5 separate regions of the Homo sapiens genome follow, and regions 1, 2, 4 and 5 are each linked to region 3. Evidence: promoter capture Hi-C in 16 types of primary human blood cells and fetal thymus (Javierre and others, 2016). All regions are on one chromosome and are shown on one strand. Each heading gives the region's core, a stretch centred on a gene start or on the middle of the fragment in contact. The rest is flanking DNA. Distances are from core to core; before and after follow the strand shown. Region 1 overlaps B3GAT2 (beta-1,3-glucuronyltransferase 2). Region 2 overlaps SMAP1 (small ArfGAP 1). Region 3 holds the start of SDHAF4 (succinate dehydrogenase complex assembly factor 4). Region 4 overlaps SMAP1 (small ArfGAP 1). Region 5 overlaps LOC124901229.

Evidence for each region. The method cuts DNA at HindIII sites, captures the fragments that hold promoters and counts their contacts. A CHiCAGO score of 5 or more calls a contact.
Region 1: a fragment that was not itself captured here is called in contact with the fragment with the promoter of SDHAF4 in region 3 in 5 of 17 cell types (naive CD8 T cells, activated CD4 T cells, naive CD4 T cells and 2 more); the score reaches 6.4 in naive CD8 T cells.
Region 2: a contact is called between a fragment that was not itself captured here and the fragment with the promoter of SDHAF4 in region 3, in 3 of 17 cell types (total CD4 T cells, naive CD4 T cells and non-activated CD4 T cells). The highest score is 5.8, in total CD4 T cells.
Region 4: a contact is called between a fragment that was not itself captured here and the fragment with the promoter of SDHAF4 in region 3, in 4 of 17 cell types (total CD4 T cells, non-activated CD4 T cells, activated CD4 T cells and 1 more). The highest score is 8.4, in total CD4 T cells.
Region 5: a fragment that was not itself captured here is called in contact with the fragment with the promoter of SDHAF4 in region 3 in 2 of 17 cell types (total CD4 T cells and non-activated CD4 T cells); the score reaches 5.4 in total CD4 T cells.

The regions. Positions count from the first base shown.
Region 1 is chr6:70,898,789-70,903,895 of GRCh38, reverse strand. The region is part of intron 1 of B3GAT2 (beta-1,3-glucuronyltransferase 2); the gene reads left to right. LOC105377850 (a long non-coding RNA gene) reads right to left here. Exons shown (of 5, transcript XR_001744196.2): 3 at 4,355-4,422. Among named protein-coding and RNA genes, the nearest start is that of B3GAT2, 56 kb to the left of the region's middle. The HindIII fragment of the contact is 1,245 bases long and covers 2,740-3,984 here.
Region 2 is chr6:70,855,639-70,861,096 of GRCh38, reverse strand. SMAP1 (small ArfGAP 1) reads right to left here. Exons shown (of 11, transcript NM_001044305.3): 9 at 4,067-4,238; 10 at 2,868-3,175; 11 at 1-897. The coding sequence ends at 763. It overlaps B3GAT2 (beta-1,3-glucuronyltransferase 2), which reads left to right. Exons shown (of 4, transcript NM_080742.3): 4 at 1-4,418. Among named protein-coding and RNA genes, the nearest start is that of B3GAT2, 99 kb to the left of the region's middle. RefSeq lists a silencer at 3,445-3,594. The HindIII fragment of the contact is 1,294 bases long and covers 2,526-3,819 here.
Region 3 is chr6:70,563,463-70,568,380 of GRCh38, reverse strand. SDHAF4 (succinate dehydrogenase complex assembly factor 4) reads right to left here and starts at 1,451. Exons shown (of 3, transcript NM_145267.3): 1 at 1,377-1,451. The coding sequence starts at 1,440. RefSeq lists a silencer at 1,104-1,163. The HindIII fragment of the contact is 5,796 bases long and covers 1-2,150 here.
Region 4 is chr6:70,826,835-70,831,703 of GRCh38, reverse strand. The region is part of intron 6 of SMAP1 (small ArfGAP 1); the gene reads right to left. Among named protein-coding and RNA genes, the nearest start is that of B3GAT2, 130 kb to the left of the region's middle. The HindIII fragment of the contact is 3,003 bases long and covers 1,697-4,699 here.
Region 5 is chr6:70,957,331-70,962,802 of GRCh38, reverse strand. It overlaps LOC124901229, which reads right to left. Exons shown (of 2, transcript XM_047419611.1): 2 at 3,886-5,472. The coding sequence ends at 5,445. Among named protein-coding and RNA genes, the nearest start is that of B3GAT2, 3.0 kb to the right of the region's middle. The HindIII fragment of the contact is 1,810 bases long and covers 599-2,408 here.

The sequences.
Region 1 (5,107 bases), core at 2,113-4,612, 330 kb before region 3:
CTGCAGTAAATACCTAGGAAAGGAATTGCTGTGTCATGTTTTTTAACTTTATAGGAAACTACCAATTTTTTTTCCCAAGTAGTTGTTACCATTTTTTACTACCACCAAGAATGTATATGAGACCTAATTATTCCACATTGTCATCAGCTCTTGGTATTGCCAATCTTTTCATTTTAGCCATTCTGGTGGGTCAGTAGTGGCTTTAATTTCTGTTTTTTAATTTTGTTTAATTTCTGAAATTTTAATTTTATTGTGGTTTTAATTTCCATTTCTGTAATGGGTGATGACACAGAGCATCTTTTTGTGTGATAATTGGTCATTCATATATCTTGATGAAATGTCCATTCATATCTTTCACTGACTTTTTTAATTGGGTTGTCTTTTTTCTTGAGCTATGAAGTTCTATGCATTCTGAATACTAGTGTTTTGTCAGATGTATGTATTAGGATATGTTCTCCCAGTCTACAGATTACTTTAAAAATTTTCCTAATAGTATCTTTTGGAGAGTAGAAAATTTTAATTTTGATGAAGTCCAATTTATAGATTTATTTAAGGTTCCTATTATTTATGTCGTGTTTAAGGAAGTTTTGCCTACCCTAAGACCTCAAAGATTTTCTCCTGTATTTTCTTCTAGAAGTTTGTAAACTTAAAAACTTTAGCTTTTGTGTTTGGGTTCATGGTCCCATTTTAATTTAATTTTTATGAATTTTGTGAGATATAGGTGTTGTTCTTTTTCTTTCTTTTTTAATTTTTTAGTTAATAAAAATGGTATATATTTATATTGTATAACATGATGATTTGATACATGTATACATTGTGGAATACATATTACCTCACATGGTTATCATTTTTTTGTGATAAGAACACTTAAAAATCTGTCTCAGCAATTTTTAACTATATAATATATTAACTATAGTCACCATGATATACAATAGATCTCTTGAACTTATTCCTTCTAAGTAAAAATTTGTCCTTTGACCACCAGCCCCCCTGCCACCCCTCACTCCCTGTCCAACCTCTGATACCACCATTTTACTTTCTGTTTCTATGAGTTTGACTTTTTAAGATTCCATTTATCAGTGAGACCATTGGTATTTGTGTTTCTTAGCCTGGTGAATTTTACTTAGCATAATGTCTTCCCAGTTTTTTTATGTTGTTGCAAATTACAGGATTTCCTTCTTTTCTAAGGCAGAATAGTACCCTATTGTGTTTATGTGTATATATATATATGTGTGTGTGTGTGTGTGTGTGTGTGTGTATATATATATATATATATATCCCATTTTCTTAATCCATTCATCTGTTGATAGGCACTTAGGTTGATTTTGTATCTTGGCTATTGTGAATAGTGCTGCAATAAACATGGGCATTCTCTTTGACATACTGATTTCATATCCTTTGGATATATATGTTCAATAATGGAATTGCTGCATCATTTGGTAGCTCTATTTTTAATATTTTGAAGAGCCTCCATACTGTTCTCTACAATGGCTATGCCAATTTACATTTCTACCAACCATGTACAAGGGTCCCTCTTTCTCCACATCTACTTTTTTTTTTTAGCATGGATGTCCATTCATTCCAGCCCTGATTGCTGAAGAGACTGTCCTTTTCCCCCATTGAACTGCCTTGGCATCTTAGCCAGAAATCGACTGACTATATGTAGGAGGAACTATTTCTAAATTCTCTAGTCTCTTCCATTTATCTATGTATTTATCCTTACACTAATGCCACATTGTCTTGATTTATATAGCTTTATAATAAGCAGAGCCCAGTCAGGCCCCTCCTAGACAGTCCATACCAGAATTCACAAATACATATGACCTAAAGCAAGTAACATAATTAAGTGAAGCTGTTCTTGTATAAGCAGTATTACTTTATTTATATTAAAATCTAACGGGCTAAAATTTCAACGTGGTTCATTTTCATTTATTAATGTTTTGAGTCATGTCCCTTTCTCACATGTCTCATGGTTCTTATTATGGTTTATTTCTAATGATATCTTTATACACATACTTTTCACACTAAATATTTAGGAACATTCCCTGTTTTCATACATAGAACAATACTGCCTCCATACATTTTTGAAATGCGTGGCCCATTTGATCTGTTTTTCAGTTTCCCACTTCAAAGAGAGGAATACAGTATCTCCCATGACAGCATCAGCTGGTTAATGAATGGTGATTGGCATGCAGACTCAGCATTGAGACTGCAGTGGGGAATGATGGGGACACTGTGGCAAACGGGGGAGGGCTGGCACTGCTGAGAGGGGCACAGCCACTCTACGCCACTTTCATAACATCATGTCAAATGTACACAAATTCACCATTATTTATTTTGTTGCTCAAATTATTCCAGCTTTGTCCACTAGGAGCTGTTTCAATTGGCTATGTCCCTTTGACACACACACCAATGTGGGTTTGTTCGGTTTTTTGTCTTATTTGAATGCTTCTTTCCTTTCTGGCTCCTCCAGGCTTATCTTGTGTATTTCCCATCCCAGTCCTAGAATCAGCCATTTCTCTAAGAATCCCTGGTTTCTTTTATAAGAGAATGGCATTAGAAAATGCCACAGAGGTTAAGTGTCATTCCCATCACATCATAGCAAGGGTACATACTATCAACACGATTTATGACTATCGATGTTACCCTTAATCATCTAGCCAAGATGGATGGTGAAATCATTAGGAGGGGGATGCAATAAAGAGGAAGAAAAGCAGACTTTATGTTCATTTTCAAGCTTGTTCCAAAGGAAAGTTATAGGTGTATTTGATCATATAAATATCGTTTTGTTTTGGAAAATCACGTTTAGGGACAATAAAATTGGAAAGAATCCTTGCTTCCAAATCACCTCTGTGTTCAAATCTTCATCATATTTGCACTGCCCTTTCCTTTGTGTTCTTAGTTCATGGGTCCCATTGGATTTGATGGGTTTCGTTTACTTTTTGCTACTGAAATTGTTAGTTTAAAAAAACAGGATACAGAGTGTCACATTTTTTATTGTAACTCCACTTTCTTGAAGTTGCCTATAGCATTTTAAATTTCAGAAGATCGATAACTTTATTCATTTCCCTTTGGAAAAAATAAAACAAGATTTTAACTAGTGGCATGTCTTCAAGGAAGCTAAAGACATTTAACTTTTTCTGTTTTGCTCTAAGGGCATTCTGATGATTGCCTGAATGTGATCTTCTGAGTGTTCCAGTCCCTGGAGCTGGCTGTTAGCCATCTCCCAAGGAGGGTCGAAAAGAACGTAGCAGAAAGCTGCAGAAAGAAAAGCTGGCTAAAGAAACAGGAGCTGCCAGCCAGGGCAACATAGTGAGACCCCAACTCTATAGAAAATTTAAAAAGCTGTCCTGGCATGGCATGCCTGTAATCTTAGCTACTCAGAAGGCTGAGGTGGGAGGATCACTTGATCCCAGGAGTTGGGGGCTGCAGTGAGTACTTCCAGCCTGGGTGACAGAGGAGACCCTGACTCAAAAAAAAAAAAAAGAGCCGGTTGTTGTTAAGGGCCACCAGACTGGAGTGCATGGTAGTCACCTGCCTCCCTCCTTTCCTGGAGAAGATGACAACGTGATGAACAAGCACCACTACCCTGGAATAGTTTAAATGGCATTCAGCCTGGAGGAGTGTGCACATGCACCAAATATATCTTGTGTGTCCTTTGTAGCCATTGGGTCTATGGAGATTACTCTGGCTGTGAGTTTGGTTGATTAACATTGCTATGCAAGCCCTGTCCATTTAGCTGGAGGTTATCACAGGAGGAATAAACCACAGAATATGACTTTGGCATTGAATAAATGGGAAGAGAGTGCTTTTGGGGGCCAGAACTGTTTGTAATATTATAACTCCTATAAATACATGAATTGCTGCCCCTTTATCATAATATCCATTGCTTTAATGCTCTGTTTTAGATTGGAGTTCACACCAGACACCTGAGATTGTGTTTGTTATGTAACTGCTATTTCATGTTGAGAAAGTAGCAAAGCTTTTAAATACTGAGAATATTTTAGTTACATGAAGATACTTTTAGTAGTCACTGTTGTTGTTACATTCCCCCTACCCCTCAGAAAATAACAGGGCTGTTAAGGAATCCTCAAAGAGCATAGATTGAGTGAAAATGACACAGAACAAAGGACAGATCCCAGGAGTGAAATGAAGAAGTTCTGTAAATAGCTGTGCCGTTTTCCTTTGAAATGTCTGGCACACTCTATATAGTATAGTGGTCGAGGATAGAGGGGCTAATTCTGTGATGAAGCATTCTGCATGGAATTTCAGCAGGGCATAGATGGTGAGGGCATCTGGATCTGTTTGAGTTTTTAAACTAATTATATGACAAACTTTTTAAAATGTAGCATACCTGGAAACATCATCCCGCCACGTCATCTGCATTTAAATAATCATTGCCTCACCTTTAACACCCAGCCTCTAGAAAAATAAAGCATGAACAAATGTTAGCTCTGAGCTGCTCTCAGTAATTTGGAGTGTGCTAAGCAAAACCTACATTTTCTAGCATGAAATTGGCACAGGAATGCATGCAAAGTTTTGCTTCTTTGATTCATCTGGTTACCTAGAACCTGAGGCCATTCTGTATTCTGTGGACAAAACCCTATATACCTTTCATGACCCAGCTTAAATGAAAAGTCTAATGCAAAACATGCTGAATTTCTGTGGCCATATTTAATTGTTCTAGTGGTCCCACAGGTATAGTTTATTATTCTTTTTAATTCCCTTTAATGGCAATTTCTCTTTTCCTTTTTTAAAAATGTCTTTTGCCTTCTGTTCATTTATTACCTGTCTCCCTTTTTTATTGTGAGCATGTCTCTTGCACAGCACAGACACATAGTGATTTCTTGTTACATGTGGGCCCACATTTATTTTTTATTTCTATTTGTTTTTCATTCCTATTTATTTATTTATTTATTTATTTATTTATTTTGAGCCAGGGTCTTGCTTCATTGTCCAGGCCAGAGTGCAGTGGTGCAATCACATCTCACTGCAACCTCTACTTCCCGGGCTCAAGCAATCCTCCCGCCTCAGCCTCCCAAGTAGCTGGAACTACAGGCACACACCACCAACCACACCTGGCTAATGGGCCCATATGTAAATGACT
Region 2 (5,458 bases), core at 1,923-4,422, 290 kb before region 3:
TTACTGTCATAAACCTAGATATACCTTCAAGGATTGAAGATTGAAAGTGGCTTTGTTTTAGTTAGTTACCCTGTTTGCATATAGTGCAGAAAAAGGTCTTCATGTTAGCACTATGTACATTAAGAAGAGATCCAAATTACAAGAGAGGCAGATAAAATTTGAATTCTTTAAGCATTCATTAAACGAAGTTTTGGAGTAACATCCACGTTTATCTTCCTTTCACTAATCACGTTCCCTGTTAAGCACATCATAACAACAGCACAGTGAAGTGAATGATGAAATAAGAGCATTTTGATACACTAGAAAACAGTGCTCAGTGAGACATTTACATTCTATTTATATGATTAAACATTTGATCATACAGTACCTTCCTACAGGATTACTGGCTAATTTTGGGGTGGGGTTTATACTATTAGAGGTATTACTAACATGATAACTACTTCCCTTATATGCAAACATTAGAGCTATAATTTTATTGAGAGGAAAACTGATTTTGCAAGTTGAGCAGCTTCTCAAATAATGCAGTACATGAAATCATGGGAAATATGAGCAAAGCTGCCCTTGACATAAAATGATTTATCAACCTGCTTTTCACCACATCAAATTGAATCAGTACAGACCAACACGGTCAATCAGATCATTCTTAATATGAACAAATGGGTAAAAAGAAAAAAAATATGCATATGAATAAACAGGGGAACTAGATGCGTTTCAGCAAGGAATGTCAGGTGGTAGTTCTGGATGAAACTTGTATTGCAGTTTTCATTTCCACAGTTGTGTGCTGAGAGTCTGACCTGATGAGCTTCCAGACCATCCTGCTGTTGTGCTGGAGGGCTGGCCAAAACCTGCAGTAGGGGTTGCACTACTGATACTCATGCCAGCCATCTGCTGATTCATCTGTGAAACATATAAAAGGCTTAGTTCAAGAGGCTTACTTCACTTTTAATTCTTGTTTCTTTAGCCACACAGTTGGTCATTTTTTCATTAATGTGACAACTAGTCCAAGCACTGGAATAAAAACAGAGTACCATACAAATATTTCTTAAAGCAAATAGCTACTTTGTTCCCTTCTTTATCTACTTTCTAGATACAGTTTCCCCAAAGATTAACCACAACTTACTTAAAAAAAAATACCAAAGCAATCTTGGGATTTTAATGAGTCCGCTACTCTAACTAACTTTCACCTACACTAGGATATTGTGCTTTAACTACTAAGGAGTAAGAAAATTTTAGGAAGTAAAATAGTCTAAAATTATCCTATAAACTTTGTATGATAGATATTATTCTCTATTAAAATCTTATATACTTCCTAAATATTTTTAAAGTGGTCATAAAGCATTTATTTCTCTCGCTGATCTAACAACATAAACATCTAAAATTTATTTTCATTGTATGCAATAAAGCATAAGATTACATGTATTTTTCTTCAAGACTGGAGTCAAATATATATATATATAAGCATCTTAACCCTGTGATTCTCTTACTTCCAAAATTGGTGATAAGAGAAGGAAAGGCAAGATTTACCATATAGTGAGTGGGTTTAAAACTTACACTCAGAGTTAGACTGTGTTCTTAATTTAATACATTTGACTTGACTTATTTACAGTTTCAAAGACACTAACATAAACTACATCACTAATCAGGCATAAGTGTCTGAAGAAGCAGATCACGTCTTCATACCTACTAAAGGACATTTTAACCACCTTGTCATTGGCCAGTAGATTGCACTGATGGAGTGCTGGAGAACAGCATCACCCTTCTGCATTATCTGGAAGTAAGAGCCAGTATTAACTCCTTCCTGGTTCATCTAGCACCTTAACCTGAGCTGGGTGTGCTTCAGCATGTTGACCATGTGACTGACACTTAGCACATACAATTTTTTAGATTCCCAGCGGGTAGAGACCAATGTTTTACCTATATTCTTGTAAATGGTGGTAGCAAAATTAACTGTGATATATAGTGATTGTGCTAATGTTAGAAATCACTCTAGACTATTCCCTGAATGCTCTAAAGGTAAAACAAGTGACCAAACAGAAACCAAGATTGCCAAAATGCTGGAGGAACATCAATGGGAAGTGTAAAAGGAAGAAGAGTGGGAGCATGAACCTCTCTAAGAGCCTTTGTCTGTGCAGCTAGAGAAAAGTCAGAACACAGCACCTGAAATAGAAATGTTCTATCTCAGCTCTAACTTAGGTAGAAATAGGATTTTATAATATGAGGGGATGTCTGGTTCACACCTTATGGGAATTGAATCTTTTTGTACTCTTTTTAAACATAAAAGTCATTATAGGGTATGTAAAAAGAAAATACAACTTTACAAAGGTTTCTCAACAAAAAGAATTTTTACAGAGCCATGGGGCAGTAATCATCCGACCTGAAAAATAGCCTTAGATCCCTCATAAAATAGTGCTTTGAGAATATGAGGCTAGATTTTTATTTTCTAATAAAAGATCCTAAAATTATTAGTGAAGCTAAGTTGTCTAAGTGGACTGTAAAAATGTCCCACCAGCAAGCTGGATAAAGCTTAGTGCTAATCTCAGAGGTGACAGAGAGGGAGTCTCATGATGCCTGAGATAATTTCTGGCCATTAGTGGTGTTCACGTTACAGTTACATTACAATTTGAAATGAAAGATGTTTAACCTTTTTTTTACAGAATACTCTAAAATAGCGATAATAACACATCATTTGTCTATCTGATACAACTTCATAATATTTATAGATACTTTTGACCCTATAACATATTATCCCTATTGAATTCTTTCTGCCAGATCACTAGACTTAAAAAAAAAAAAAAAAAAAAAAAAAAAAGATTTAGAAAATAAATCTGGTTTGATTTGGGAGAAGCTAGAAAGTAAATGACCCCTACCTGTGAGAGGCTCCACTGGGGCTGCTGAGCTTGCGGCAGGCCAAACTTACTCTGGGGTGCACCCATTTGTCCCACCATTCCTCCTTGGGGGCCAACAACGTTCTGAGGAAGTGGCATCACACCAGTTTGTGCATTTCCCATAAACCCATTGGGCATGGGCATGCCCACCATCATGCTTGGACTCTGTCCCATCACATTTCCTATAAGGCCAGGAGCTGCAGGCACAGGCACGCCCATCGATGGAAAGCCCTGAAATGCAGCTGGTGCTTGTGAGGTAAATGGTATATTTGTGGGTCCCATAAATACACCTGCACCACAAAAAGAAAATGAATGAAGACAGAGCTATCACGTGTAGTTGCACTCATCTCTATAATCACAGAAAAATTGCCTTTCTGAACTACTCACAGCAAACATTTTAATTCCAGTTTGGCTGCTCCTACTACTCAGACCAACCCACACCTAAACCCTGAGAGCTGGTTGTTTCTAGGATGCAGACAAATCAGTTATTAACCTGAGTAAATTTAATTAAGAAATGTAAATCATATGCAACAGCCACACAAAATATCTTCCACTGTGAAGACCAAACTATGTAGCATGACATCATACACTGTTTTATTGCTGATTTGTACCACTGGTCCCCCAGTACGAAACAGGGAAGTGAGAGCTGACTATATCTCGCTTCAATAGGTGTAGTGGGCTGCCCAACAATTTTAGCTCACATGTGAAATGCAGCTCATTATTTTAAAGGAAATGGTGTGAAAGATTAAAACTCTGTAAACAATAAGGCTTATGCTAATATTTTGTTATGATTACAAAAAAATTCATAGATTTTTTTTAATCCATGTGGTAACTCAAGACTGTTTACCTGCAGAGAAAATACACTGTACGCAGTCATAAACTTCATGCAAATCGTTTCAATAATTCATCAAAGATAATCCATGTTCTATAAGCTTGTGAAACAACATTTAGTGATCTATGAACAGCTTGTTAATTCCAAATAAAGTTCTGTGAATCCTGTACATGCCTCTTAATTTTTTAATTCTAATGCTCATTCATTTCGGCTTCATAGTTGTATAAACTGCAACAACAAAAGCACTCACTACATGGAACAATAAAAGATATATAATTGATCTTATTATATAATTACAAAGGATGTACTTCTAGTAATGTCACTGAAAGCAGATATCAAAATTCATTACCAGGAGTACTTTGCTGTTGAATGGTTCCTGTGCCATACAGAGATAAGATGGAGTCTTTGGAAAGTTGTTTCTTTGCCACTTCTTCTGATTTTGTAGTTTGCTCAGTGAATAAATCTAGATCCCCAGATGTTACTGTAGACAGGGTTGCAGCTGCTGGTGCAGAGGGTGTCCCCTGAGACAAACACCAAAATAAGCTATCAAATTCTGCATAGTAAAGCGCAGCTTATCCATTACTTAAAATCCAAATAAAGTTATAAAATTAGATAGGAATCAAACAATTGTAGAAGGTAAAATGGTGCCATTCAAGAGGATCACTTACAAGCCCAAGCCCATATAAAAACATCTACAATCAAGACAGTACTTCTTAATTTGAATCTGTTAATGTAGGTAGACTGAAGCATTTTCACAGTAAGTTGCATTTACTACCTAAGGTGACACCAAGTTTTTGCTCATCAAATCCTGGGGCTCAACAATAGTTAGAGATGAGAGGACCACCACTCCATAGCAACTACTGCTTCAAGAAACTGGTATCCTTTGGAATAAAGAACATTTCTACAACTACAACAGACTGTAAGAGGATTTGCAATGGCTACTTAAAAGGTTTTATCTTTTCAAAACCTGTATCATAGGATTTTTATACATCTAATCAGTTTTAACTACAATATTAGACTGCTTCTAATCTATCCAGAAATGAAGGTACAGCAAAACTTTGACCATCTATTGTCTGAACATATCCTGCCCTTCACTTTTGGACAAGGGGGCAAATGAACACAAATACAAATAAACATGTAGATATTTAATATAAAATATTCTCAATCTCATATCTTGCACACACTATTATACAATCACAACTGCTAACCTTAATCATCTCCGTAGTCACTAAACATTAAATCACATTCACATGTTATATGGACTTGTTTTGAATATGAAGAGAGTTTCAAAGAATTCTATGAAGACTAGTAAAAGCTGGCTGATCCTTCTCAAACTACAGAATAAGGTGAGTTGCAAGTGGAAATTAAATTCAAACATTTAATGTCCTCCTAGAACACCATGCAATAAGTTACCATCCAAACATTGTACTTATAAACTACACAGTATTTTGAATCTTATGACTAAGCAAGAATTGTAAGCGACAAAAAGCCGCTTAATTTTCCAAAAATTCAAATATGTAAGAAATTAGATATCATGGAATACTAAATATCACAATACCCCTGAATAAAATATATCTAAGCTACCAATGAAGCAGCAGCAGATCATAGAGCTAAGAGCATGGGCTGGAGCCTGTCTGCCAGGACTAGAGCCTGCCCCCATGACTTTCTGTGGTACACTCAGACATGTTACTTTACTTCTCCTTTCAGTCTCTCTCCTATAAACTTGGGATAAGCTTAATGA
Region 3 (4,918 bases), core at 202-2,701:
TGGAGTATAAGTTCATAGATGCTGGTTGTGCTTCATAGCTTACATGACTGCTACATAGCTTACATGTGTGCTACGTGTGTGTGTGTGTATACATATATATATATGGAATAATTCATAATTGTTTAAAACTAGTTAAAGGGGGATGTTGAATGAACCCTACAAAATTTTAACGTTATTACCTTGAGGTTTGGATAATGTAGGACTTTCACTTTCTGTATTATTCATTTCTGGACTATTTAAAACTTATACAATTAAGTAAAATGTTTGTATTTGGGTAAAATGATTGCACAAAGGAAAACAAATTGCATAGAAATCTGGCACCATTTGAGGGCAATAATTACTGTTTTCAACTTACATAACTTCTCCAGGTGTCATATATTAAAATTATGTTTTGCGGACCGGGCGCGGTGGCTCACGCCTGTAATCCCAGCACTTTGGGAGGCCGAGGCGAGCGGATCACAAGGTCAGGAGATCGAGACCATCCTGGCTAACACGGTGAAACCCCGTCTCTACTAAAAATACAAAAAATTAGTCAGGCACGGTGGCGGGCGCCTGTAGTCCCAGCTACTCAGGAGGCTGAGGCAGGAGAATGGCGTGAACCTGGGAGGCAGAGCTTGCAGTGAGCCGAGATTGCGCCACTGCACTCCAGCCTGAGGGACAGAGCGAGACTCCATCTCAAAATAAATAAACAAATAAATAAATAAATAAATAAAATTATGTTTTGCATAGTCTGGGCTGCTAACTGTATTATCTTGAGAAAAATTTCCAACAACAATGGGTTTAAAAATGTTGGTTTTACTGAAAGCATGAATGCTTTTTCTGTACTGACAATTCCTGGCTTCATCTAATTTACGTTATACTTATTTGCCTTTGGCTCACTTCTGCACTTTTCCCATTTTTAAAAGATAAACTGTAAACTGCCACAAATCCTTTTCTGCTGGAGCCTGGACCAGGAGCGCGGATTCCTGTAAATAATGATGTAAATAAATAAGTAAATCAATGACTCCCATTCCCAAAGGGCCTTCTTTTCCATTTTTCTCTGGGGCATCGAAGTGCGGTGTGCCCTGCGAGCTCCCACAGGAACAACCCGGAACGTTTGTGGTCCTGTTGGGCCACCGCGTGCTCGGTAGGAAGCGGACGTCCCGGGGGCTGAAAGGGCCTTAGCGATTTTCTCGCTCTAGTCCCACCCGAGACCCGGGGCGCTGCAGGAACCTGCCCAGGCCACCGGGTGGGCGGCTGGGCGGGAGAAGCTGGGCAGCCCCTGGCAACACCGAACGGCCAGGACACACGCGGCTTCCTCCGCGGGAGGCGCTTCTCTCTGCGCCTGGGCCTTCACGACCCCTCCCGCGACCGTGGCCCCGAGGCCAGGTGCTTACTTGCCGCTCTCCACGCCGTGGCCGAGACCCAGCTAAGCAACCAGGGAAGCCTCGATGGGGTCATGGCGCCGACTCCCCGAGCCTCCGCGCAGGCGCAAAGCAGTAGTGGGAGGAGCAGGGGGCATGATCCGGAGCCTCCCTGCAGAGGGCGGGGCCTCCGTGGCCGGCTTTAGAAAAGGAGTTAGAGGCATCCCTGGGCTCTTTGGCCAAGAGAGACCCAGGCTACCTTGAGCCCGGTGTTAAAACGCCAAATCGTGGCTGCAGTTAGAAGAGGGAATAATTCCGTTCCGTTCATGCTTGTCAGTCTGAGCCGAAATGGCCCGTGGAAGATCCCTTTTATAGTTTACAAAGATTGAGCACCTTTTACTCTCTCACTCATGTAAAATGCTTCTTTTACCTAATTCTCCCTGTTTTGTGTTTTAAATCTTTGTTCAGTCAGCTCCTAGTTCGTCCATTCTGACCGACTAACCAGATGATATGAAAGGCGACATTTTTGAATGAGGTGCAAAGCAAGAAAAGGCTCTCCATCCAGGCCAGGATCCAGTGCAATGAGCTCTGCCCCTTAACCCTTACATCCCACCAGCTCTGATAGCGTTGAGTGGATGTGGCAGACCTGGATGCTTTGTGCAACTCGTGGAAATATTTACAGAATCATAGTGAAGGCCCCCAGAATTCTGGAATTTTGTCTTTTCTTTTAAAGAAAAGTTTCTGGCTAGCTATTGCGCCTTGGTAGTGTCTGACCATGTGACATCAAGTGGTTATACGATCGAAGCTTCTTATCATGAACTGAGAATTATCTGGTTCTCCTAGATAAGGAGATCCTTTTACGAAGAGAAAGTGGGCCGGGCAAGGTGGCTCACTCCTGTAATCCGAACACTTTGGGAGGCCGAGGCGGGTAGATTACCTGAGGTCAGGAGTTCGAGACCAGCCTGGCCAACACTCTACTAAAAATACAAAAATTAGCCGGGCGAGGTGGCACATTCCTGTAATCCCAGCTACTTGGGAGGCTGAGGTAGAAGAATCGCTTGAACTCGGGAGGCGGAGATTGCAGTGAGCAGAGATCACGCCACTGCACGCCAGCCTTGGAGACAGAGCAAAACTCCATCTCAAAAACAGAAAAAGAAAAAAGAGAGAAAGTGGGATACACAGAACTGGGCCAAAGTCAAAACGGAAACAGTTTTCATTTGTAGGGAGCTCACAGTCCTAATATCATGCTTTTGACCTTTAGCTTATATCTACAGTTTAATAATGAATTCCTTGTGACTAGCTGACTGAGGAAAAAATTCAAAGTCGGATGATGGCTTTGCTCAATAAACTGGCCCAGCTGGCAACTGACTGCTTTTCATATTTAGAGCCCCACTTAACAGAGGCCCTGAAGGAACAGAACAGGGAAAAAAAATTATTTCCAGCATGCATAATTTAGCTTATTTATGTATTTTATGTTTTTACAGGCACATGTCACCACACCTGGCTGATTTTTCTATTTTTAGTAGAGACAGGGTTTCGCCATGTTGACCAGGCTGGTTTCAAACTCCTGGCCTCAAGGGATCCACCCCTCTCAGCTTCCCAAAGTGCTGGGATTACAGGTGTGAGCCACTGTGCCTGGCCAGAATTTAGCTTATCTTGTATGCTTTGCCTAAAAAGAGACATGGCTTGAGATAAAAATCGACATTTCATAGGCAGTGACTGGTTTGTCAAGTGGCTGGGAACTGGGAATGTAAAAGTTTTGGACTGGGTCTTTGGAATAGGACCTCTCAAAGTGGTCCCAAAGCATGAAAACATTTGGGTCCTATTGAACGTTAAAAAAAAAAAAAAAAAAAAGAGCTTCCATTGCAGAAGGGCTCTTAATCAGAACAAGATTATTAGTTATCTATTGCTGCCTCACAAATTATCCCAAAATTTATTGGCTTAAAGCAATAAACAGTTATTCTCTCACAGTTTTTGTGGATCAGTAACCTAGAAGCCAGAGTGACTGTGGTTCTGGGTCCTAAATGAGGTTGCAGCCAAGCTGTTGGCTGAAGTCCCAGTCTCGTATAAATGCACAACTAAGGGAAGATCTGCTTCCAAGCTCATTCACATGATTATTGGCAAGATTTGGTTCCTTGTGGACTTTGGACTGGAAACCTTCTCAGTTATTTGTTAAGTGGGCTTCTCCAAAGGCTATCTTGCAACATGGCAGCTGGCTTTCCACAGGACAAATGAACTAAGGAGCAAGAAAGACCACTCAAAATGGAAGCCCTGAACTTCTGTAATCTCATTTCGGTAGCGACATCCCACCACTTCCACTGTATCCTATTATTAGGTCCCGGCCACTCTCAAAAGGGGATTACACAAGGGCTGCAACAGTGACCCATTCTGTGGACATCAATTACTCAGCCTCCTTCCCCCACAACAGGTGTGGACTCAGTAACAAGGTAGCCACGGTGGCAAGAATGGAGACATACATGTACTTTTAACACCGTCTTTCTTCTGCCATGACTGATTGGCTACTACCACTACTCGCCAACTGCAGTGACCAACTTGATCCCATGATACACTTTTATGTGGTCTGGGTGGCAGGTCTGATTACAATGAAATCCTACTGTTATGAAGGAGGTTGCAATTTGTTCTTACAGGAAGAGACAATTATTCTGCATTTAGATTGTTTTCCCTGATTTATGCTTATTATATACTTCACCTGTGGACTTACTGAATACCTTAACACACTACTCCATATTTAATACAATATCATATACAACATTGCTTCTTACCGAAGAACTCATTTTCTTGTGAAAGATGTAAAGCAGGGGACTAATGCCTGCAGGATTCACAGTCTTATATATTCCATCATCCAAAAGCAACCGATTTTATGGAATGACGGACAGCCTTATTGAAGGTTGTTTTGGAACGAGGTGAGAAAATACACTTTGGGATACTGCCCTAAAGGATTTGTCATATTTTCCAAATGAGTCAACGGTATTTGGTGATATATCTTCTGTTGACAGAATAACAGAGATCAAAGAGTAGAAAAGGGTCTGACTTCTTACTATTGCATATGACTTACTGATATAAAATATATTTTGCTTTCCATTGTAGTAGAGAAGAGACAAGCTCCGAAGGCCCCTGAACATGCCTGTATATTATTACTGAGTGTGCCAGACTGCAAGCCGTATCCATCTCCTGATGCTAAGCAGTTTCTGTAGTTAGTCATATAGGCACCTAAGTAGGTCAAGGCAATCACAGCATTACTACCATTTAACTGCTGCTCCCTGGGGGAGAGAGACTAGCTTGTTTGTTGTTTGCTCAAAAACTGCTTGATTCTTGATCCTGGATTCTTCTGTAATGCAACCCCCCATGTGCACAGACGTCATCCGGCCCTCTGCATCACACTGTGGGAATTGGGCTACGGGAACTGATGCAAATATGCGGACACTCTGGCTTCTATTTTGCTGTAATAAAGCTGTTTTGTCTTTTGTCCAGGAGTATCCTGTCATCATCCATGAAACTGCAGCAACCTAGCCTGTAACCTTGCAAGTAGGATAAAATCTCAGACCCTTCACTAC
Region 4 (4,869 bases), core at 1,949-4,448, 260 kb before region 3:
ATAGCAAAGACATGGAATCAACCTAAATGCCCATCAACAGTAGTCTGGATAAAGAAAATGTGGTACATATACACAAGGAATACTATACAGCCATAAAAAAGAAGGAGATCATGTCCTCTGCAGCAACACTGATGGAGCTGGAGGCCATTATCCTAAGCAAACTAATGCAAAAACAGAAAATTAAATACTGCACGCTCTCACTTATAGGTGGGAGCTAAACACTGAGAATACATGAACACAAAGAAGGGAACAACAGACACTGGGACCTACTTCAGGTTGGAGGGTGGAAGGAGGGAGAGGATCAAAAAACTATCAGGTATTATGCTTATGACTTGGATGACAAAATAATCTGTACACCAAACCCCTGTGACATGCAATTTACCTACATAACTAAAACCTGCACATGTACCCCTAAACCTAGAATAAAAGTTAAAAAAAAAGTAAAAATAAGAAAAGACTACTTCCAATCATTATATCATGACCACTGCTAGGATGCCTAATATTGCCATATTCTAAAAGCTGACAAGACAGGTACTCAGTCTCTGACTGAAGGGGAAAATCATGGCTGGCCTCAGCTATTGGACTAGGAAGAGACAGTTGAAATGATAATTCTCTTTTGTCACATTGAAGAATCCAGCATTTCAAAAACCAAACATTTAAAATAATTAAAATCAAATCTCATGAAATAAGATAGGAAGTTCAGAATAATTTTCTTCTTGTCCCTCATTACAGTATCTGTAGCAACAAGGCAATTTAAATAATCCAGATTAATCAAGAAGAGAGCAGCAGTACCCTGTGTACATGCTAAAAATCCTGTCTCATGGCCACTCTAAAGTCTACTTAGTTTCTACAGCAAAGCACATTTGATTCTCTTTGTCTTTCTTTACAATATAAATCACCAATGTTAATGTGTAGAGAGGAACAACAGATTTCCAAAATGTATTCCAATTAAATATTTTGGTTAACAGACACAGACATATGTGTAATGGATTATGTCTTCCTGAAAACTTTCTAAAATGGAAAAGTCTTCAAGAACATGTTTGACTTTTTCCAGGTTTGCCTATAACATAAGAAGTCATTTTTATCAATATTTTCAAGACATAAAGGTTGTAAACCTTAAACAACAAACATGAATACATAAACTATCAATTTGTACTTTTGCTCTGTAGCATACCAACTGTATTGTACTTTGCAAAGACTTACAAGATACAATTATTTAAGATACTTAAAATATAGCTATCACATAAATACAAAGTAAATAATATCTGGAAGCCAAATTTTAGAAGATTTAAGAATAAAAATGCTATTATCTTGTTAGGATTTATGGGCAGGGATACTAGTGTGTGATAACAGTAAATTAATACCTTGATGACCACACCTTCCCTCATTTAACTGTCATCCTTTTGATACCTCACATTCATCTCAGACATGGCAAGCAACAGATACAGACTCACTCCACTTTAAATTCTGCTGCTATTGAAAACATTGCATAGGAAATTTGTCTTTTAATAAGTGAAGAATGCAGTCAACTGTGGGTAGATAAAATTAGGCAATCTATAATTTATTAAACAAAATTTTCTAACAAGCAAGAACATAAGTCTACTTAGATAAAGCAATTTTATAAAATGTAATTTCCTTAGAATCACATTGAGCAGATGTCTCGTTCAAATTATTAAAGCTTTTATTAGCAGAAGCTTTACTACCCAATCTTTTTGTGATTCATTAACGCTACCCCACAGAATATAATTGAATAAAAAACTATTTAGGTCCCAACTCCTACATTTACCACCATTTCCTAGCCCTTTAAATAACAGACATAACAGCTGAGCCTCTAGAAGGTGATTCACTATTCTTCAGCTGGCCAGTTAATGTAGACAAGAGCATAAATATATAGTCAATAGGAAAGCTATACAATTTTCTAAGTTCTAGTGGTAATTATTCAAAATTTTCTTTTAAAACTGACATCTCAAATTATAACTTAGTTTATTTATAATCAGTTTCCTTTAATATTCCTAGAATCTTAGAACAACAAGAAACATAAAATGTATTACATTCAACTTTTTCATTTTAACATTAAGGAAATTAAATGACATGATTTGTCCAAAGGCTCCGTAAGTGGCTATCGTGGCAAAGGTTAATCTCCTAACAGGGTTCCTTGCCCTGCACCATGGTGCCTTTTGCTGAATAATTTCTATCTATCAAAAATTAGATTTAAAAATAAATATTTACCCAATGCTTAACAATACATGCATATTCTTACAATGACATAACAGAAAACTGCAATTTAAAAAAATCATGCCAGGTGGCACGTGACAGTAGTTCCGGCTATGTGTGAGGCTGAGGTAGGAGAATCGCTTCAGCCCAGTAGTTGGAGAACAGGCTGGACAACATAGCAAAAACACATCTCAAAAATAAAAAAAACAAAAACAAAAACAAAAAGAAGACAAAGAAAAAAACAGAAAAAAAAAATAAACACAATCTGATAGAGGGTCAGAGCAAGCATGCCAATAATTTTAACTCAAGGTACACTATAAAGACCACATGAAAAGTATGACTCTTTGAAGTTCAAAGGTAATGGTAGTCGTGGGTGATTAGGATTTTATAAAGGTAGTGACATTAACTTTTGTGTATGTAGGAAAAATAGGAAAGAGTCAAATAGGAAACACGGTGCACTCTACTGCCCAGGCTAGAGTGCAGTGGCAAGATCGCAGCTCACGGCAGCCTTGATCTCCTGGGCTCAGGTGATCCTTCTACCTCAGCCTCCCAAGTAGCTGGAACTATAGGCATGCACCGCCATGCCCAGCTAATTTTTGTTTTGTTCTGTTGGGGTTTGAGACAGAGCCTCACTCTTGCCCAGGCTGGAGTACAGTGGAGCAATCACCACTCACTGAAGCATTGACCTCCCTGGAATTGGCAATGGCACCATGTGAAGAACACTGAGTGGGAAAGGTGCTAGATGGTGCTTGTATCTGACTGACCTCTAGTTCTACATGTAAGGAATAAAAGATGAATCTGAAGATTTTTATTCTATTTCCACAATGTGGAAGGACCTAAATAAATAGCCAACTAGAGCTAGCATTCATATATGTCACTGTTTTTCAATGGGGGTAGTGAAAAGAAAAAATATTACTCCTGGAGAAGTATGTTGTGCATATGAACTGCAGTGAGGAAGAAAAATCTGACCACCATTGTTGTAGGTGGGAGGCTTTGTGACTGTGATGTGGTCAGAGCAATACTTTAGGAAAAAACTAATCTACGGCCTCAGTAGAACCTGATTATCTGAGATACATTTTCTAACAAGTTACTCAACAACACATAATTCCCAGAATACTAACCTATCTTGATTACCTACTGAAATCTTCATAGGTTTAACCTTTAATTCCCAGAATACTATCCTATCTGATTACCTACTGAAATCTTCATAGGTTTAACCTTTACTAAAATTTTCAGTAAAAAATTCATGAGTTAATATTATCCACTATATTACCTACATTAGTTGTTTACTCAAATAAAGTCTTTTGACTATATGCTATAAATACATTAATAAAAACCAGTCTTATATTCCTATATAGATTGATAGCTATAATTACTATATCTGTTTGTATTTGTATGCTTTCAAAACTGAATTATATACAACCTTAAAACTATTTTATGTGAGAAAAAATTTTGCATATAATTCTTGTTTATTCCCAATATCTTATTTATTCAAAATCTTTAGTTTCTTTTTCTCCTGTTTACCATTCTTTATAATATAGATCTTTTACAAATTAAAGCTGTCAACACATAGAGTACTCTTTTTGAATTTAATATTCTTTCTTAAATTGTATTTTTAGGATTTATTACAATCTACATTTTATTTCCCCAATCATATGGACATCTTTCAGTAAATGTTCTCTGTAAGACCTATGGACACTACCGCCCCAAACAGTATCTCACTGGGCTGGAGAAGTTATCAAGGATTTACACAAATTGCAGAAGTCGGAGCAGCCTTGAAGACATTTAGTGAATTATGTGATACACAAAACACTACTGTAACATCTCTCTTACACGTCCATTCTCTCTGTAAGAAAATCTTCCAGTGTTATGGAATCACTGCATATGATGATATAGCATATTTTACATTTGGATAATTACAAATATTAGAAAGTATCCTCTTCAGACAATTTGTAACATCTACCCATTTAGCCATACTCTCTATGCTACAGCCATGCATAAAACAAATGGAGGAATAAATTTGTGGAGCTGACCTTCTCCAAAGCAACAGAAGACCATTAATTCATACCAGACCTTTGGTCATCTAAAATTCAATGACATTTTCTTTTGTGCTATATTCAGGACAGTTAAGTTTGGGTACATTTGCTTCAGAATTTTACATTTATCCAATTTGTTGGCATTTATTTTAACACTATCTGAGGGATTTATTCTGTCATTTGATATCTTAACTAATCTTTATTGCTTGGTCATTTGAAAATTTGAACAATATGGCACAGATATCCACAGTTAATAAAAATGCTGAAAAGAATGAAGTTCAGTATTGACCCCTGAAGAAAGCAGAGAACTTCCTCTAAACTGACATCAATTCTATTAATTGGATAGCTGTCTATCCGGTTCATAATCTACCTTACTATCTGATCATCAGGCCCACCTGTCTACATCTTGACCAGACGCATATTTAAGAATCTTGGCCAATAAGCAAGCTTAGTCTGACAGGAACTGTGGGGTTTTTTTTTTCTTTTCTTTTTCTTTTTTTTTTTTTTTTTTTTTTTTTTGAGACACGGTTTCACTCTGTTGCCCAGGCAGGAGTGCAGTGGCAAGATCACAGTTCACTATACTGCAGCCTCGATCTCCTGGGCTCAGGCGACCCTCCTA
Region 5 (5,472 bases), core at 254-2,753, 390 kb before region 3:
TTAAAAGCCATAGAGTGGGGTTAGATGATTCAACTAGTATTTACTGGGAAAGGAGGTTTTCCCGTGGCAGAAAGTTATGTCAGTTACGGAAGACAGTATTCACTTAGTAAGCCTTCTCTTTAGTCTCCTCCGTCAAGCCTGTTGCCTGCTTAGGCCTCTCGAGTACTGCTTAGGCCTCTCGAGTACCGTCAATCATACCATAGAGTCTGGATTTGAAATCCCACCCATCAATGTTTCACTTTGAAGCTTTGAGGAAGCTGATGAGTTCTGTACTCAGTGTTCTTCACCTATTCCTTTGTTCCCATGCATGCGTGTGCACACAAACACCTGTTGGTTTCATCCTATCATTATGCACAAGTTCCTATCAGATTATAATTGCACTACCACCATCACTTCCTATCTGTATTAGTTTGCTACAGCTGCTGTAACAAAGTTCCACAAACTGGGTGGCTTAAACAGCAAAAATTTATGTCTCACTGTTCTGGAGGCCAAAGGTTCAAAATTAAGGTGTCCACAGGGCCGCACTCACTTCAAATGCACCAGGGAAGTATCTGTTCCATGTGCCTCCCCTAGCTTTTGGTGGTTTTTTTGGAAAGCTTTGGCATTCCTTGACTGGTGGCAGTATAGCTCCAATCTCCACGTGGTGTTCTCCCTGTGTTCGAGCCCCTGTGCCCAAACATCCCCTTTTAATAAGAACACCATTCACATTGGATTAGGGATCTACCCTACTCCAGTATTAACTCACCTTAACTGCTTACATCTGCAATGACCCTGTTTCCAAATACGGTCACATTCTGAGGTACTGGGGGTTAGGACTTTGATGTATGAATTTTGAGGGGATACATTCAACCCATAATATTTTGCACAAATCAGGCACTTGATGTAGTTCTTAAAACAAGAGCAGTTGGAAGCAGTATTATCTTGGCAAACAAGTGGTAGAACATAACCTGTTTTACATATTTTAATTTTTTATCATGGGAATGTTGACACATACGCAAAAATAGGCCCAATAATATAAGGAACCCCAGGTCTTCATTTCCTAGTTTCAACAATTACAACCCATGGCCAATGTTGTTGCATGCCCCTCCTGTAAGATAGAGGGAGATTCTCTTACAGGTATGAACTACAGTGTCTAAAATTACATTCATCTACATTATCTTCTTTGATTTTCATAACAACCAGAAAGGTAGGTTATGTAGTTTTACAATAAAATTCATGTCTAACAAATTACTATTTTAATGTAAATGCCAATTTTTAAGATAGTGAGGGGAAAAAGAAAGAATGCCAGTATGTCTTTATGCATGTTTTATTGGTTTTTTTGTGCATTCTAATCCGTTAATAAAAGGAAAGGAAGGAACACTGGTATGCTATATCGTCAGCTCTTATTCACACTGAATGGAATTAGTTTTCAATGGAATTGTTAAGGTAAATTGCCAATTTCTACTTTTCTAGAAAATCACTTTTACTGAAAAACCTTGTTCCTAACCCATCCTATAAAAATGGGATTTTACTGAACTACCTCTAATGTCACATTTTGTACATAATGGCTGCAAATGTCTAAAATGTTAAGGAAACATTATAATTTAGAACAATTCTAGGCAAAAAGAGATATTTGTAGAGGATCCGGATGCATAAAAGAACAAATGAGCCATTTAATTTGTAGTTTAGATGTCATTTTTCTGACAGTTATCAATGAAACTGTCATGTATCCCTGGAATTTGGGGCTGTTAGAATTATTTATTTTGATATCATTCTTTCACATAATTGTGTCTGATATTTTAACAGAAGGTATTTATGTTCGCATGCATGTGGACATTATCAATACTTTCACGTTACATTATTACTCATACATGCATTAGTTCTGATTCTCTTCAAAACCTAATTTGCATAACTACAATATTATATATTTATAAATACTTAATTTTGTACAATCCTTTTCCTACTTGACTAAGAATATCAAAGATGTCCCCAAATGCTTACTTGAAGGTTGATTTAGTCACACTAGCAGAACCCCAGGCTCAAATGTCAAATGGGATCATTTCTGTACAGTGCAGTAACCATATTGCAGTCTTTCTGCTGCTGAAGTTACAGTTGCATATTACTCATCAAGGCAAAATGTAAATGTTTAGTGATTATATGATATGGTTTTTGTTAATTCCCCAAATGGGATTTTTTTTACCTTTGTTTATTTGAGAACAACAACTGAATGCTGAAATGCAGTGGCTGATGCCAGCAATCTAAGGCTTCATTAGTACAGACGAAGCAATGCTCACTTTGCTACATAAATAATTAGAGAGATTAAATGAAAATAAACACTGAGAGGATGTGCAGACGCTCCGAAGTTAGGTAATTATTTTAATTACTCTAGTGACTTCCAGCAACCTTCATTATCAGCCACAGATCAAGCTTAAATTGTTTTATGTAAGAATATCATAAGCTATATGGAAAAGTACCATAGCTTACTTAGTGATTATGCTTCATAAAAATGACATTTTCTCCAAGCTCCCATTTAAAGGAGTTGTTTCCATTCCAGCCCCTGATAGACTCGTGACATATTTTTAAAGTATAAGTTTTTGCACTTAAAAATGTTTTGCCCTGGTTTTGTACTTCTAATGGACATCCTTAATGATAATTTTCGTATCTTTATATCTTTGCTCAGATTTGATCATAAGAGATTCGGGGCCACATATTGAGTGGCTTAATGTAAAACAATATGGCATATTCAGCCATCTGAAATAAATGTCACTTGGAATCATGTCATCCTTATTGCATGACAAGCTATACCTTGCATTTGGGGTAAATTTATTTCTTCTTTCTTCCACTCCCTAGACCAACTTGGGAAGACTCTAACATACACTCTAGGAATTATCTTCATTACAAGCAGAGGTACTATTTAGAAGCATTATCAGTCCTGTTTAGATTTCATTTTATATTCATTTGATAACGATGATCCATCAAGATCTCTTGTGTTAAGGTGTTCTTTTGAGGAAGGGTTATCTGTATTGAAATATCATTTATTGACTGCCTGTGTAATAATGGCTCTTCTTCAAACTACCCAACATACACCATTTAATCCTTGCAAGATTCCCATGGAGTATGTATTATTAACCCCATTTTCCAGATGAGGAAACAGGCCTTGGGAGGTTCACTGATTTTCTAAAGTTGCACAGTAGAAAGTATCCCAGAGGGGACTCAAACCCAGGTCTGCCTGACTCCAAGAACCATGAAGCTCCCCAACAGATGACTGAATGAAATAAACCTGGGTACAAATGCTAAGGGTAATAGAAAAAAATGAAGTGACAGTCTGTGATGTGCTAATTAAGTGTTGTGTTTTATGACACCCATGAATTCTGGGCATGAGCTAAAGTCTCAAACTGCAAATTCAATTGATTTTGAAAGTGCTTTGGGCTAGGCACAATGGCTTACATCTGTAATCCCAGCACTTTGGGAGGCCAAGGCATAAGGACTGCTTGAGCCCAGGAGTTCAAGACCATCTTGGGTAATAGGAGACCCCAGTCTACAAAAACTAAAATGAAAAAATTAGCAGGGTGTAGCAGCTTATATCTGTAGTTCCTGCTACTCAAAAAGCTGAGGCAGGAGGATTGCTTGAGCCCAGGACATCGAGACTGAAGTGAGCTGTGTTCAAGTCACTGCACCCCAGCCTTGGCATTGAAGAGAGACCCTGTCTGTCTGTCTTTCTCTCTCTCTCTCTCTCTCACACACACAGACACACACACACACACACACACACACACACACACACAGTGTTTCATCTCTGAATAGCCCTGGTTCCTGGAGAGGATGTAATAGCAAATAGGTTTTATGGCATAGTTGGACCAACCAAAAGTTCCCCACTAACAAAGGTTAGTGATGTTTTTAGTACAATTCAGTAACAACATGAATTTTATTCCAGCAAACACAAGGCATTTTAACCAAATTTAAAATTTCCAACAGGATGAACCAGACTTCAGTAACTTAGGGGAGAGGGGTGCACTGCTTCCTAAGAAAAACCTTTTCTTAAAGGGAGGCCTTGACTTCTTTCCTCTTCCCCATCCTGGCATGATGCTGGTGCAGAATACATTTCCAAGGTTGTGTTATATTCAGAGGCACATTAGGCTATTCGAGAGAATGGGAAGAGGTCTAATGGCTTCGTTGTTTTCTATGTTTAGGATGCACTAATCTGCAGAGTTTAATGTATGAGTTGTGGATGGCACAGGGAAGTTGGGACAGAAGGCTAGCTCTAGGGAGTTGTTGGGGTGGCTGGGTGTTAGTCTGAAATTTCACTCTCACGTTTCAGAATCTGAAGAGGAAGTTAGGGAAATTCACAGATGAGCCAATGCCTTTTAACAGGTGGGGGGTTCAGGGGTAGGACTGGGAGAAGAGGAGCTGTCAGAAAAGCTGGAGAGCCATTCGCCCCAGAGCTCTCAGTTGCACCAGAACGCACAGTCGGAGAGAGATTTATTTGTGAACAAGCCCGAGAAAGGCAGACAACCCAGACAAGATGGGCTCAGAAATTATTTATCATAGGCTAGGGCAGAACAGTCTGGAGCTTTCCTTCTGCTTTGCAAGCACTTCCCTGGGACCTGCCTGGGAAGCACAGCCCTTCTTCCTGGTAAGTTACAGAAGGTCAGGCACTCAGCTAGTAGGCCAGCTAGACAGCAAAAAGTGTCTAAACTAAGTGCCAACTGTTTACTTGGGGTCTTCCAGACCCTATCATGGTTCTATTCGTCATGGTACACTCTGTTTGATTTCAATCGCACCATCTTTATATGTAGGAAGGCCAAACCGGCCCGGCTGTGTTGGGTGGGATTTCTGCAGGCCATGCAGTGAGGACGCCACTAGCTATAGACACACGCAGGAGACCCACGTTCTATTTCCATATGCCACTTGCCACTGACCTCAGAGAAATCATTTTAAACCCTGAACCTCAGCTTCCTTATCCTGAAAATGAAGGCCATTCTACTTCTTAGGCCTTCTTGACAGGAGCCTTGGGAGAGCCAAACGGAGTAATTCCGGTGACAGCGAAGAACTGGGAGGGACCGTGACTCCAAATTACTGAAGAAAAATAAGTTAAACATGCTCGGCTGGAGTTTTAGGAATTCCACCCGCCCCCACCCGCCATGATCAAACTGCAGTCAGGCAGCAGCCCTCCGAATTGATTCTTTCTTATGGACTGTCTCACATGCCAAACACCTATGTGCAGCACCCCTCCATCTCCGTGGGCTCCTATTGATGTCTGCCTTGCAGTGAAAGCGCTTTTTGTTGCCGCTGTTCGATACACCCCAGCACATCAACGCAGCAGCTGGGAGCAGGAGGAGGAATCCCTTCGCTTTCTCCCCTCCTTTCACTCCGAACCCTAGGCATCAGCAGCAACGCGCGTAGCCCGGCAAATTTCCGCACGTGAATGGATTTTCCTGGCTCATCTCCAAAGACCTTGCGGTATTTCACAAAGCTGAAGAGAGGTGAACGAGC